Regions from separate parts of the Homo sapiens genome. Here region 1 is linked to region 2. The links are contacts of gene promoters, found by promoter capture Hi-C in blood cells and fetal thymus (Javierre and others, 2016). All regions are on one chromosome and are shown on one strand. The core of a region is centred on a gene start or on the middle of the fragment in contact, and the rest is flanking DNA. Distances in the headings are between cores, read along the strand shown. Region 1 overlaps SRSF11 (serine and arginine rich splicing factor 11). Region 2 holds the start of LINC03102 (long intergenic non-protein coding RNA 3102).

Region 1 (7,427 bases), core at 1,610-4,109, 110 kb after region 2:
TACATTCAGTAGCGTAAATAAATACAAATACGGTTTTACAGGAACATGAACATAAGTTTAAGGGTTTTATTATCAAAGTCTTGTAAAACAATTTCAGAAACTGTACATCAACATGGCACAGACTGTAGCCTACTTTTGTTTCTACTGCACAAAAGTGAAGCTTGAAACTTCTGTAACTAAGAAAACAGTTGCCTACTTTGCATATATAACATGAAATCACCGTGTGCATAAGATTACTACTGCAGTAACACAAATTTATTGGTTTTATACAACTTGAGATCAAATAAAGGTACATTATCAAGTAGATTTGTCTTATTTTAAAAGCGTATGAAGGTCAATTTAAAATGCACTACCCCTTTTTTCCAACACGGAGCTTAAAACAAATTAATGAAAGAGTGGAAAATTCAAAATAAGGGCAAGAGATAAGGTTTTTTTCTTTTTTTCCTTTAAGATAGACTCAGGATAGGTAGATAGCTTTCACTGATGTAGATGTGGAATAAATTATTACTTCAGGAAAAAAATTCCCAAACATCTTATGAAAAAGTATACAACTCTACTTCAAAATATGCTATTTACTCACTGCCAAAGACAGTTTTATTTGAAATCTTGTTTCTGTATTTAAACCCTAATTAGCCACCAAAAAAGGTTAGTGCATAATAACCTTTCAAAGTTAAACAAAAGCCACAAAAATTTTGCCACAAGGCTTAAAGGATTATCTATTTCAAATGCTCATTTCCAGATGTAACTATAAGAATGTTAATTTGTCATGTCAACAAACAAGACCATAAGTAGATCCATCATGTTGGAGGATTTTAATGACATTTAGGATATTCTTGCCACAATAACATGCAATCAGTGCATTTCCTACATGGCTCTATTACGGCAATGAATCAAATTATAGAAATACTATAAGTGAACTTACTTAATAAAGGATATCATACGACATAAACAATCCATGCCTGCTGTAGATGCATGCAGCTTTTCATTTTTGTTATGAAGCAGCACCAGAATAGTAAAACTGCTTGGTTACTCAATCAGATTTCACCATGACAAGAATTGGTTACCTCGTACCATTTTCTAAAAGCTTTTTGATGTAAATAACTAATATGAGTAACAGGAGCTTTATAACCATTTATAACTCAGAGCTGTATACATCTAGGTTTGAGATGAACAAATACAGCATTAAGAAATCACACAAAGGAATGACACTGATGCAGGTATACAGTTGGACTCCCTCAGAGGCAATATTCAGTCACTCATATCCATGTCTTCTTCATGATGATCATCCCCATTCACTTTGGATTCTCTTAGTGAATCACCAGTTCCCTTTTCCACAGAACATTCCTTTGTTTTAGGGGAACCTGTTTCTATTGGTTTCTTCTCTTCTTTTTTCTCTTTCTCACTGTCATACCCCTGTTCCTCTTCATCATAATCCCGTGTAACCTGCTTTGCCAAGGAGAATAATAAAAGTAAACTTCTCCAAAGAAAAATAACTTCTGAAAGTACCAACATCACCCCAAATATAAAAATAAATCAATTTGTAAACATACTTTTACATCTTTATCACTCTCTGATTTTCTTTCCCGGTCCTTTTCCTTATCTTTACTCTTCTTCTTCTTGCTTGTTGATCGTTCTCTTTCATCCCTACTTCTTTCTTTGTCTTTATCTTTCTTCTTCTCCTTTTTATGTCTAGAATGACAGTAAAATGTACAGCAACAGGTTTAACTTGTTTAGATGATGAGCCTGACTCAATTTCACAGGATATAAGTAGTACAGCAAAGATCCAACTTCAAAACCTTGGAGAAGTAACACAGGCTACAAAACTAACTTGTTTATAGGACTAAAATGTTCAGTCCTTAATGGTGTTTAAGTCACAAGTCAGAAGGAGAATACATTAAAACATTCTTAAGAACTGTAACTGCTGAAAAGAAAAACTACAGGACAGTTTTAAAATGAAAAACCTCTGAAAAATATAAAAAATACATTTAAATGATTAACATTCTTACCTCCTAGGGGATGGTGAGCGGGACAATTTTCTTTTAGGAGACCGAGGCTTTTTAGGAGATCTTGTGCCACTCCTGCTTCTTCGTCGTCGTCTCTCTCTAGAATCACAAATGTGCAAACTAGGTTTTAAAATACAGTGTGATCTTAAAAATGCAGACACATCATAGATGATTCTAACAATGAAAGATGTGGCCAGATGTAGTGGCTCATGCCTATAATCCCAGCACTTTGGCAGGCTGAGGTGAGGGGATTGCTTGAGCCCAGGAGTTCCAGACCAGCCTGGGCAACATGGTGAAACTCTGTCTCTACAAAAAATACAAAAAAATTAGCCAGGTGTGGTGGTGCATGCCTGTAGTCCCAGCTACTCAGGAGGCAGAGGCAGGAAGATCACTTGAGCCTGCGGAGGTTGAAGCTGGAGTGAGTTGTGATAGGGCCACTGCACTCCAGCCTGGGCAACAGAGAGAGACCCTGTCTCAAAAAAACAGAAAAATGAAAGATTGTTTCACAATACTGGTATAAGCTAAACAATTAAATGAGTAATATAATCATCTGCAAACCATGAATCTTTCCCTTTACTACCCTCAAGAAAACTCCTAATTTCTAGTAATTCTTTTAATTGATGACAAAATGTTAGAAATACTAAGCTTGAGAAAAAACTGATTTAACAAAACTAATGCGAGAGGGGTGACGTGTGAAGTAAACTATTACTGAAGAAGTTAGTTTTTGGTTCAAACATTCAGTGTTCAGAGTAAGTACAGAATAATTCAATAATGTGATATAGAAGGTAGTTACTAATAAAATATCCCCACATTCACCTTTAAATCATTAGATGAAATTCAGAGAACTAGTTAGTGGAAAGGTAGAAACCTTATACTCTAGCAAAATCGCCCTCCTGCAGTCCCCCAAAACCCTGCTTTCACCAATTACTTTGAAGATATACAGCTGATATACAGCCTTCCCCTCCTTTTTACTGTAACTTAAAAAAAAAAATTCTGTTCCTGATTCTCAAAAGTTATCAGACTTAAAAAACCCTGTACTTAGTTGTCTAATTTCCAAATGAAGCTTTTTTTCTACTTACACAGCCCTCTGTGACCCTTGTCCTGGAAACGTTACACATAACTGAGCATTCACTTATCAAACATTGTCACGACTGTGCACCTTATACTTTTTGCTACTGTCTTATGTAACTGAAACTCCAAATTCTCTAGACGGAAGAAGTATTTTATATTACATTTCCGTGTCCTTCAACAGACTGTAGCACAACTACAAACACAGTGGGTATTTAATAACTCACAGAAGATGCCTTAATTTAGAGTGATCCAATAATACAGCATGAGAAGGCACTTACAAGTACATTATATAAAGCAACAGGTAAAAAAAAAAATCCTCAACAGTTTTTAAGGTAAGAAAATATATGTAGTACCTTCCATCTTTTCTATCTCTTTGCCACCTATCCCTCAGGCCTGATTCAGCATTTCCTTCTGTACTTACATTTGGTTTCATTTTCATGCTTAAAAATTTAGTTTTTAAGAAAATTTTCACCACCCCAAAAACTCCCTACCCTTTAGTTATCACTCTAATCCTCCCTATCTCCCCAGCAATCAGTAATCTACTTGGTATCTTTATAGATTTGCCTATTCTGGGCATTTCATATAAAAGGAATCACGCAATACACGGCCTTTCATGGATGTTTGCAAGTTTCATCCATACTGTAGCATGTATCAACCTTATTTATCACTGAAAAATATTCAATTGTATAGATATACCATTCTGTTTATCCATTTGTTAATGGATAGTTAACTTTTTGGCTATTATGAAATAATGCCACAAACATTCACATAAAAGTTTTTCTGTGAAAATGTTTTCATTTTCCCCCAGGGGTACAACTGGTGGGTCAAAAACCTCTATGTTTAACATTTTTAGGAAATGCCAGACTGTTTTCTAAAACACCTGTACCAGTTTATATTCATACTAGCAATGCACAGGGTTCTAATTTCTCCACATCCTAATCAACACTTACTATCATCTGTCAGGCTCAGCTATCATCTGTCTTTTTGATTTATAACCATCCTAGTGACTGTGACATATCTCACTGTGGTCTGGTTTGTATTTCCTTGGTGACTAATGATGTTGAACAGATTTTATGTACTTACTAGATATTTGCATATCTCCTTTGGAGTAATGGCTACAGATTCTTTGCCATTTTTAAATTGGGTTGCCTGTCTATTGCTGAGTTCTAAGAGTTCTTAATAGAGAATATATAAAGAATTTTCTAACTAGCACTCTAGGTTTTTACTTTCTTGATAGTATCCTTTGAAATACAAATGTTTTAACTTTTGGTGAATTCCAAAATTTTCTTTTCTTCTGTTGCTTATGCTTTTGAAGTCATATCTAGGAAACCACCAAGCTCATGGTCTTAAAGATTCACTTTTGTTTCTTTCTAAAGGTTTTATAGTTTTGGCTCTTACATTTAGGTCTTTTATACATTTCAGTTATTTTTTTTTATATGGCATGAACCTTCTCCTAGTGAATTTAAGTAATGTTGATGAATAAAACAAGCACTGCAGCAAAACATGTGAATGAGATCTGAAAAATGGAATGAAGTCCAGCCCTTACTATCATATAAATCCCAAATTAAGTATGAAAATGTGCTTTTTGTGCAGTAAGGTCTGCAACATTTCAATTTTCACTGACAGCTTAAAGATAGAATTAGTCTAAGAATGACACAAACCAGAACCTGCATTGCTTCCCATTAATTCAACAGTCATTAAAAGGGATAGAAAAATTCTCAAGTACTAACATGCAGATGATAAATATAGCTTACTATAATAAGCTTACTTAATGGAACAATTCAGTATGGTTTAGCCATTAAAACTTAAACTATAAAGAGAAAAACTCACCTCTCTTGAATTCCATGTTACTTCAAATATACTCTAGACCATAAAATATTAAGTAAAAAGAAAAATAAACTACATTATTCTTCACAAATTGCCTTTTAAAAACTTTAAATAACAGCAAAATGTAACTTTTTTCAACACTGAAATACTTATGTTCTGGAAAAGACTTCATACTGACAGCGTACTGATACTGTTAGAAGCAAAGTTAAAAAAATAATTGCCAAGAATTCACAATGCCACCTTACCTGCTTGCACTTCTAGAACGTCTGGCTGTGCTGTAACTTTTTGGTGGTGTTTTAGAACGTTTCTTTTCTTTGTCTTCTTTCTTTTTGTCTCTAACAAATGAACACAATTTATGAATGCATTAGAAGACTCAGCTGATGCCAATTTATATAGCACTACAAACACAAAAATATAATCAGATCTAATCCCATCCTTAAAAGCATAAATGTTGTTCTGACAGAAACTGTTTTAAAAATAATACTTTATGTGGCATATTTGAAGTACAATAACTTCTTTTAAAATCCTATTATCCTAGGTTTTCTCCCAAGTAGACTAAAGTAGACTATGGGTGAGAAAATAACTAGGATGTTGGCTTGAAATATACTTGGTAAACACCAATAAGTTAACTATCTCTAGGCTCCTCAAGACTCCTTTTTCTCTCAGCTGATTACCACTTTCCCAACCCACCTCTCCTATCAGGCCAAAACCCATAGAGCACTACCAAAATCCATCAATATCATGAATATTCTTCCAAGACACACATCCCATGTCAACCTCTATCATGGATCAAGCAAGCTTCTTTTTCTGCGGCTATTATGAACTATTCAGGGCTTATTAGAAAATATCAACAGATTTTGACTACAGCCGTAACTCAATTTTTTTTTTTTACAGATTCCTATAAATTTTTACTCCTCACAATATTTTTTCCCCAAGATCATCATTCTCCCCAAGACTCTAAGCAAAGAGTAGATAAACGATATATATTTGTTGAATGAGAAGTCTCATAACAACCCCCCTCTTTAACTATTCTCTAATTTTAAGAATCAAAGTATCCCTCTCTTACTGTTCTAAGCTAATCTTTCCATTCTGCATTCTCAATTTCATTTTTTTCCCTTCTCTGGTCATCCTCGGTTCCCTCTTCATTCAATCTTTATCATTGGTTCCCTCTTCATTTGAATCTTTATCATCTAACTCCTAGATTACTAGAACAGTCCCCTAGTAGGTCCCAGTCATGCCTTCCATAAACTGATTCTGTACTCTGTCAGAAATCTTTTAAAGTACAAACCTGAAAATATTAATTCCCTGTTCACCATTTTCAACTCATTCCAGTTGCCTCCTGGATCAAGTGCATAGTGTGAACAACAAAGCCTTCCACGATCGGTCTCATTATATTTTTCTGACCTCATTTTCTAGTCCAACTACATCAAAATATTGTTATTTCAAGAAACACCATTCTCCACCTGAAAGCATGCCTCCCGTTGAGTCTAGTCAAATCTTTCAGAATTTAATACTCGAGTCATTCTCAAACCTCTTCCAATATCAGCAAGTAGCAATCATCATTTAACAGTTCCTCCCCTGTAATTAAATCCATCACTCTTCTCCTAGTAATCAGAAAGTCCTTAAAGAAATGCTTAATTCCTTTGTATAACTGTTCTATTAATCTACCTTGTTTGATTCACTCTGCAGCACATAAGGACTAAAAGCCCCATTATTACAGGTTTAACAATGATAGTAAAGCTACCCCCACTCTTCTGTTCTCATCAGTTGAGTTTTATGCTTCCCAAGAGTAAGTTATGTTGTGTCCCCAGCTGTACTTACTTTAATGACATGATTTAACTAAATATATAAATGAACAAAATAATGCCAAATATAGAGTTGCTTCTAGAAAATTAAGATAAATATTTTAGCAAGAGATAAAAAGCAGTTGCTAAAAAAATTAAGTGCTGTGAAATTGTATGCCTCACAACTATAAATGACTGGGGGCATACTAATTTAAAAGTGTTTGGTTCTACACGAAAAGACTGGTTTTTGAATATATTTTTAGATGGAAATAAAACGTTACGGTATTTCTTATGAAAGAAGGTAGCAGGACAGCTAACAATTCCTACTACTAAGAAATTTTACTTAGGCCCTCAGCTGTAAGCTGAAGTTTCAGTTTACAAGGAAGCACCAGAAAGCAAACGTCAGCCTCCTCAAACTCAAATATTGACAGTTTCTTCCCCTGTCTAGCCCTATTTCTCTGCCCCGCACCCCAACCACCTCTTTTGTTACTAAGTAGCACAGTACTAGGGGTACTGGGAACCCTAAAATTTGCTTTCTCACCCAATGCTATACCTTGTTTTTGATGTGCTCCTTGACCTTCTACCTCTTTCTCTGGAATGAGATCTTCTCCGCCTTGGGCTTTTGGATCGTCGCCGACTCCTAGACTTAGAATGTGACCGCCGTCTCGATCTGCTTCTTGACCGCCTAATAGTGTAAAAGGAAGCCAATACATGTGTATAAATGTAAAAAGACTATAAATTT
Region 2 (6,961 bases), core at 1,159-3,658:
TATTTAGACTACAGATACAGATGTAGTTACATATATTCTGAGCAATAAAGTAATTTAAAATAAAACATATTCAGGAAGCTATGGACACATGTACTGACCCTTGTCTATCTATACCATTTAATCTCTTACACACTACCCATTGTGCCTTTTTTTTTTTTTTGAGACAGTCTTGCCCTGTCACCCAGGCTGGATCTCGGCTCACTGTAACCTCCGCTTGCCAGGTTCAAGCATTTCTCCTGCTCGGCCTCTGTAGTAACTGGGATTATAGGCATGTACCACCAAGCCTGGCTAATTTTTATATTTTTAGTAGAGATGGGTTTTCGTCATGTTGGCCAGTCTGGTCTCGAACTCCTGGCCCCAAGTGATCCGCCTGCCTCGGTCTTCCAAAGTGTTGGGCCTACCCATTGTGTCTTAACCTCTTCTTTCACTAAAAAACCCATTCCTGTCTCTGTTCTAATTCTCTTGTTTCTAGCCTTTGTCGATCTAAAAATAATTTTAATTATGAATGTTTCACTTTATCTTTTCCTTTTCATCTCATTGACTCAGCCTTTCACTGTGCTCCTGGCATTTTTTCTCCTTCTTCCTCCAAATCAGTCTGTAGGTTTTATCTGTCTCAAAGGAATTTCTTCCTTCAGGAACTTCCAGCTGTTATTGGCTCTGGTTTCCTTGGCAACCCCTGCTTCTCAGATTTTTTTTCTGATTACTTAAGAGAAATTTTACAAAATCACTGATAACCACTGATCAGAAACCGTAGAAGAAAGGGAAAGTGCTCTGCATTGCCTCTGAGAAAGGAAGGGGGCAGATTTAGAGGAAAGAGAAAAATACTGAGACCCAGGGAGATGGAAGTAAAATGTGTGAATTAAGTATTGATTTACATGGTTTGTTATTTTCATCTGTCAGTGTACTGCTGTGTCGTCAGATTTCAGAGACAATTACCTCATTAGTTAGATAGCCCTATCATCTATCAAACAAAATACTCCTAGATCTTGTTCAACCATTGTGGAATGTAGGAAATCATATTCCAGATTATTGTGAGAATATAAAACACAAATCTTCAGAGAAGATGAAAGAAAAAAGATGTAGACTAAACTTGCACTAATATTTACATTAGAAACATTATTAGTATGCAATGCAATGAGAATTGAGTAAGGTTAGTAACTACAGATCCTAATTGGAAGTCTGTTGATATATTTAAAAAATATAACGAGTGAGATTTTATTTTGTACAGTACTGCTGTTCTGTATTTCATGTTACCATACTACTGCTTTTGTTAAATGAAGACACCAGGACAGGGATTAGGTGCTTTGTGTAGGGCTAATAGAGATACATAAATTTCTGGCAAAATTCACAACGTTCTTTCTTAGAGACAGATTTAACTGTCTAGTCAGTGTTTGGTGTTGGTGAGCACATAACTATCTAACAAAACTCTCATTAGAAAAAGTTGAAAAACATTCATTTTTCAGAAGCTTTTTGCTATTCAAGGCAAATTGAGCATTATTGAGTTAACTACACCAGGAGAGAAATTAATTTGCTAATTTGTAGAACTACAGAGTATTACCTAGCAAATTCAGTAGTTTAGTTCTCAGGGTTTTTTTTTTTTTCCTTTTGGCATGGAGTCTAGCTCTGTTGCCCAGGCAGGAGTGCAATGGCACAATCTCGGCTCACTGCAACCTCTGCCTCCCAGGTTCAAGCGATTCTCCTGCCTCAGCCTCCCAGGTAGCTTGGATTATAGGGGTCCACCACCACGTCCGGCTAATTTTTGTATTTTTAGTAGAGACGGGGTTTCGCCATGTTGGCCAGGCTGGTCTCGAACTCCTGGCCTCAGGTGATCCACCCGCCTCAGCCTCCCAAAGTGCTGGGATTACAGGCGTGAGCCACTGCGCCTGGCCAGTAGTTTAGTTCTATACTTGAATTGATGGATTGCATTCTATCTTGTAAAATTTGAATAAAAAGTAAATACAGTGTTTACCAGTGAAGTTATTTACTCATTACATATTGATATAATTGATAATCACTACATATTTTATCATATTGAATTCAAGACACTGTGATAACAGATTTTTTTGAAGCAAAATCCTGTTTTAAGTCTTTGGATATAGTACTTTTGCTGACCACTCTTGCATTTGTCTCTCCAACATTATTCCCCACCTCATTCCCATTATGAAACAGTTCACTGTTTGGAGAGCTGGGCCCCACCTCCGGCTCCGAGATCAATCCTGATTGGGTGAAACTAATCTGAGTAACCCCTCCTTCACAGGGGTTTGTCAGATAACCCAGGCTTGAGCCAATCACCGTTCTCTGGGACACAGATTGGACTGAGTTATCTTGTAACTGTCATACTCCAGATTTATGTGGGAGCAGGAACTCCTTTGGACCTTAAGGAGGAAGCACGTGGCTGCTTTTACCTGCTGGCAGTTATCTTGTGTTCTTGAAGGAAGCAGGCCTGAGGAGGACTCCTCATACAGAGAGAAACACCGAGAGATTCACTGAAAAACTGACATGGGATCCTGAGGGGCCACTCTTGAAGACTTATCTCTGCACCTTTCTGGTATGTAAGTCAATACATTCCTTTAATTTAACCCTGTTTCAATTGAATTTATTGTTACTTCTACATGAAAAACAAAAAGTCCTAAATGATATATCTACTCTTTGGCTTCATGTAAGAATTCAAGAGTGTAGCAGCTAATTTCAGTGTAGTTATATTGGGATTATTTAAGAAGTTTATTTAGCATCTCATTACTGAGTCTGCAGTTGTCTTAGTACCTTGTAGATACTTGGGGTTTTGTGTTCTAATAGACTGATTAATTCAACAACTGCTTATTATTAATATAAGCATTCACTCCCTGTAGGGCACTGTGCATACAGCAATGATCAGCATGATTCCAGTGCTCAGAGAGCTCCAAGGATTAGTTGAGACCAGACAAGAATATCAAGGAGGCATGCAGAAGTTACAATGGGAAATCAAAAAGAAGACAAAGGAGGGACACCTAATTCAGAACGATGGGTTTGTTGGATAGGAGAGAAAAGGAGACGAATGGGCAGGTATCATCAAAGATTCCTAAGAAGAAGTTCCTAACTTCTGTTTTTGTGCCATTGACTCTTTGGCAGTGTGGAGAAACCCAGGGACCCATTTTCAGAACAGTGTTTTTAAATGCATAAAATATTTTGGATTAAAAGGAAACTCTGAGTATTGAAATACCTAACAAAATATTTTAAAAGCAAATTTGTAATACAGTAATGTATATGCTTCTTTATTAACTAATTAAAGAACAAGATATAGCAATGAGCATACCTATTAAGATAATTTTAGAGGTACTAATGACTATAAATGAAATTTTGAGTTGTCTGCAGCAACTGTTATGTGAAATGAAAATACCTGTGGTTTTTTTGGTTGTGAAGTCACAGGTACTACTAATGCTAATACTATTGTGGTTTGTGGCATACGTTCATAATAGAATGACATGCTAAATTTTATTTGGAAAGTTAGTTCAACACAATTTCCTGGCTCTGAATTCTATGCCAAGTTAAAAAAAAATTTGTGCTAAGAAGGGATAAAATTTGATGTAATTCTTTTATTTATTTATTTATTTTTTTAGACAGAGTCTCGCTCTATCGCCCAGGCTGGTGTGCAGTGGTGCAATCTCACTGCAACCTTTGCCTCCTGGGTTCAAGCCATTCTCCTGCCTCAGCCTCCCGAGCAGCTGGGACTACAAGCAGACGTCACCATGCCTGGCTGATTCTTTTTGTATTTTTCAGTAGAAATGGGGTTTCACCATGTTGGTCAGGCTGATCTTGAACTCCTGACCTCAAGTGACTTGCCCACCTCGGCCTTCCAAAGTGCTGGGATTACAGGCATGAGCTACCACGCCCAGCCCCAGAAAGCTTTTCTGATCATCCAATTTCTATTTTCCCCAAATAGAATTAATGACTTCCTTTTCTATATTGTATTGGGAGCTTATATAATTTCAATCCTTGTATTTTTCATAATGTATTACAATCATATTTCTATCTTTTTTATAATATATTGTAATCTTACATTTCTGTCATTTTTACAAGCCCTTAAAAATAATGGATGGGGCCAAGTGCAGTGGCTCACACCTGTCATCTCAGCACTTTGGGAGGCTGAGGTGGAAGGATCACCTGGGCCCAGGAGTTCAAGACCAGCCTGACCAACATAGTGAGACACGGCCTCTATAAAAAATAATAATAATAATGAATGGGCTGGGGGCAGTAGCTCACACCTGTAATCCCAACACTTCAGGAAGCCGAGGTGGGTAGATGGCTTGAGTCCAGGAGTTTGAGACTAGCCTGGGTGACATGGCCAAACCCAGTCTCTACAAAAAAATACAAAAATTAGCTGGGCCCTGTAGTCCCAGCACTTGGGAGGCTGAGGCGGGAGGATCCACTTGAGCATGGGAGGTGGAAGTTGCAGTGAGCTGAGATCATGCCACTGCACTCCAGCCTAGCTGACAAAATGAGACTCAAAAAACAACAAAAAATAAGTCTTGGTGTGGTGGCTCATGCCTGTAATCCCAGCACTTTGGGAGGCCGAGGTGGGCGGATCACCTGAGGTCAGAAGTTCGAGACTCAGCCTGGCCAACATGGTGAAACCCCATCTCTATTAAAAATACAAAAATTAGCTTGGCATGGTGGTGGAGACCTGTAATGCCAACTACTTGGGAGGCTGAGGCAGGAGAATTGCTTGAACCCAGGAGGCGGAGGTTGCAGTGAGCTGAGACCACACCATTGCATTCCAGCATGGGCAACGGGAACAAAACTCTGTCTCAAAAATAAAATAAAATAAAAAATAAAAAAGGATGATATTTATTTATTTATTTATTTATTTTTAAAGACAGGATACCTGTCACTTAGGCTGGTGTGCAGTAGTGCAATCCTAGTTCACTGCAGCCTTGGACTCCCAGGCTCAAGTGGATCTCCCACCCCAGCCTCTTGAGTAGCTGGGACTGCAGGTGTTTAGCACCACAGGTGGCTAATATTTTATATTTTTTGATAGAGATGGGGTTTCACTATGTTGCCCAGGCTGGTTTCAAACCCCTGACCTCAAGTGATCCTCCTGCTTTGGCCTTTCAAAGTGTTGGGATTACAGGTATGAGCTACCACACCTGGCCTGAATATTATTTTTGATATGTATGGTGTTTGATTTTACTGGAGGGATACTTATGAGTTTCCACATTCCATGGGTGACATCCATGGGTGACAGCCACTAATAAAGAAATTTCAAATTCAGACTCTAGTGATAGAATACTTCACAAGTATAACGGGATATTATTTGGTGTAGGTTTTTAGTAATAGGATGCTGGCCACTTACCCTATACACACGCTTTGAATATTGGTGTTTTCAAGATTTTGTTCTATATGGACCTTCTTAATTTCTCATTCTATAAACTTTTCTTTGGGGAACTCACCCACTTCTGGAGCATTAATTACTGTGTAATGATAACTTCTGAATCCAGCCCATACCTAGTTCTCTGTTACCTAAGGATCACTTGCAAATATCTAAAATGTAGAACATCTAACTCCCTACAGATAAGCAACTTTCAACTCAATATGCTAAGATTGAACTCATTTTTAAAAACCTCTTAAACCTTTTTCTGCCTCACTCTTACTAACTTGGTTCATGCTCTCATCATCTGATTTACTGCATACTTCTTTAAAGTTCTGTTCTTGATGCATACTTCTCTAAAGTATGAGTGACTGAATTTTCTTTTTTTTAATTTTTTTTTTTTTTTGAGACCAAGTTTTGCTCTTGTCACCCAGGCTGGAGTGCAATTACACGATCTTGGCTCACTGCAACCTCCACCTCCCAGGTTCAACCGATTCTCCTGCCTCAGCCTCCCGAGTAGTTGGGACTACAGGCACCCACCATCATGCCCGGCTAATTTTTGTATTTTTAGTAGAGACAGGGTTTCACCATGTTGCCCAGGCTGGTTTGAACTCCTGACCTCAAGTGATCCACCCGCCTCAGCCTTCCAAAGTGCTGGGATTACAGGCATGAGCCACTGCGTTCGGCCTGAGTCACTGAATTTTCTATAAAGGTGATTGCATTATGCTATTCCCTGTTTAAAGATCTCTAAAAAGACTATTCCTTTTTTTTTTTGGACAGAGTCTCACTCTGTCCCCAGGCTGGAGTGCAGGGGCACAATCTCAGCTCACTGCAGCCCCCGCCTCCTGGGTTCAAGCGATTCTTCTGCCTCAGCCTCTCGAGTAGCTGCGAGTACGGGCACAAGCCACCACGCCCAGCTAATTTTTGTATTTTTAGTAAAGACAGGGTTTCACCATATTGGCCAGGCTGGTCTCGAACTCCTGACCTCGTGATCTGCCCGCCTCAGCCTCCCAAAGTGCTGGAATTACAGGCATAAGCCACCGCGCCCGGCCAAGTGTAAACTTTTAAGATGACATACAAAGCCCTGCATGACCTGGCCCTTCCTCTCTCTCTAGCCTTACTGTCAGATTTGACTGTACCACATTCTAGCATTGAAGTATTGGGCAAGTTTTTTTTAACTGTCAAGTGAGGATACTAATGCTAATCAGGGGGAGATAACAGCATATAAAGTGCCAAGCATACTGCCTGGCTTAGCGTTAACAATAAATATTGGCTATTGTGGAAGAAGCAAACATTATTGCATGTATTTTTTCAGTCTCTACTGCTGTCTCAAGAGGATGCTTTGAACTGTTGATTGGGTAATGTTTTAACATAAACGGAACTCTCCACTCCACCGAAAAAGAAAGAAGAGGAAGAAACAGATTTATCTGAACAGACTGAGAAGAAAATTGGAGGTGAAAAGTTGAGTGACTGGGGAGGATTAAGAGAGGCCCATCGAGTTGTTTGTTTGCGGAGATGAGTTAGCAGTAGTATAAACTTTAAGAAAGAAGAGATCTGGCCGGGCGCAGTGGCTCATGCCTGTAATCCCAGCACTTTGGGAGGCTGAGGCTGGCGGAT

Evidence for each region. Contacts are between HindIII fragments. The CHiCAGO score rates a contact against its expected background, and 5 or more counts as called.
Region 1: a contact is called between a fragment that was not itself captured here and the fragment with the promoter of LINC03102 in region 2, in 1 of 17 cell types (naive CD8 T cells). The highest score is 5.4, in naive CD8 T cells.

What each region holds. Positions count from the first base shown.
Region 1 is chr1:70,244,627-70,252,053 of GRCh38, reverse strand. It overlaps SRSF11 (serine and arginine rich splicing factor 11), which reads right to left. Exons shown (of 12, transcript NM_001350605.2): 8 at 7,239-7,370; 9 at 5,147-5,236; 10 at 2,007-2,102; 11 at 1,551-1,689; 12 at 1-1,446. The coding sequence ends at 1,249. Among named protein-coding and RNA genes, the nearest start is that of SRSF11, 27 kb to the right of the region's middle. The HindIII fragment of the contact is 418 bases long and covers 2,651-3,068 here.
Region 2 is chr1:70,355,884-70,362,844 of GRCh38, reverse strand. LINC03102 (long intergenic non-protein coding RNA 3102) reads left to right here and starts at 2,408. Exons shown (of 2, transcript NR_183713.1): 1 at 2,408-2,548; 2 at 2,850-3,286. All of the region lies in intron 1 of ANKRD13C-DT (ANKRD13C divergent transcript), which reads right to left. RefSeq lists a silencer at 2,283-2,476 and an enhancer at 3,713-3,772. The HindIII fragment of the contact is 2,416 bases long and covers 1,469-3,884 here.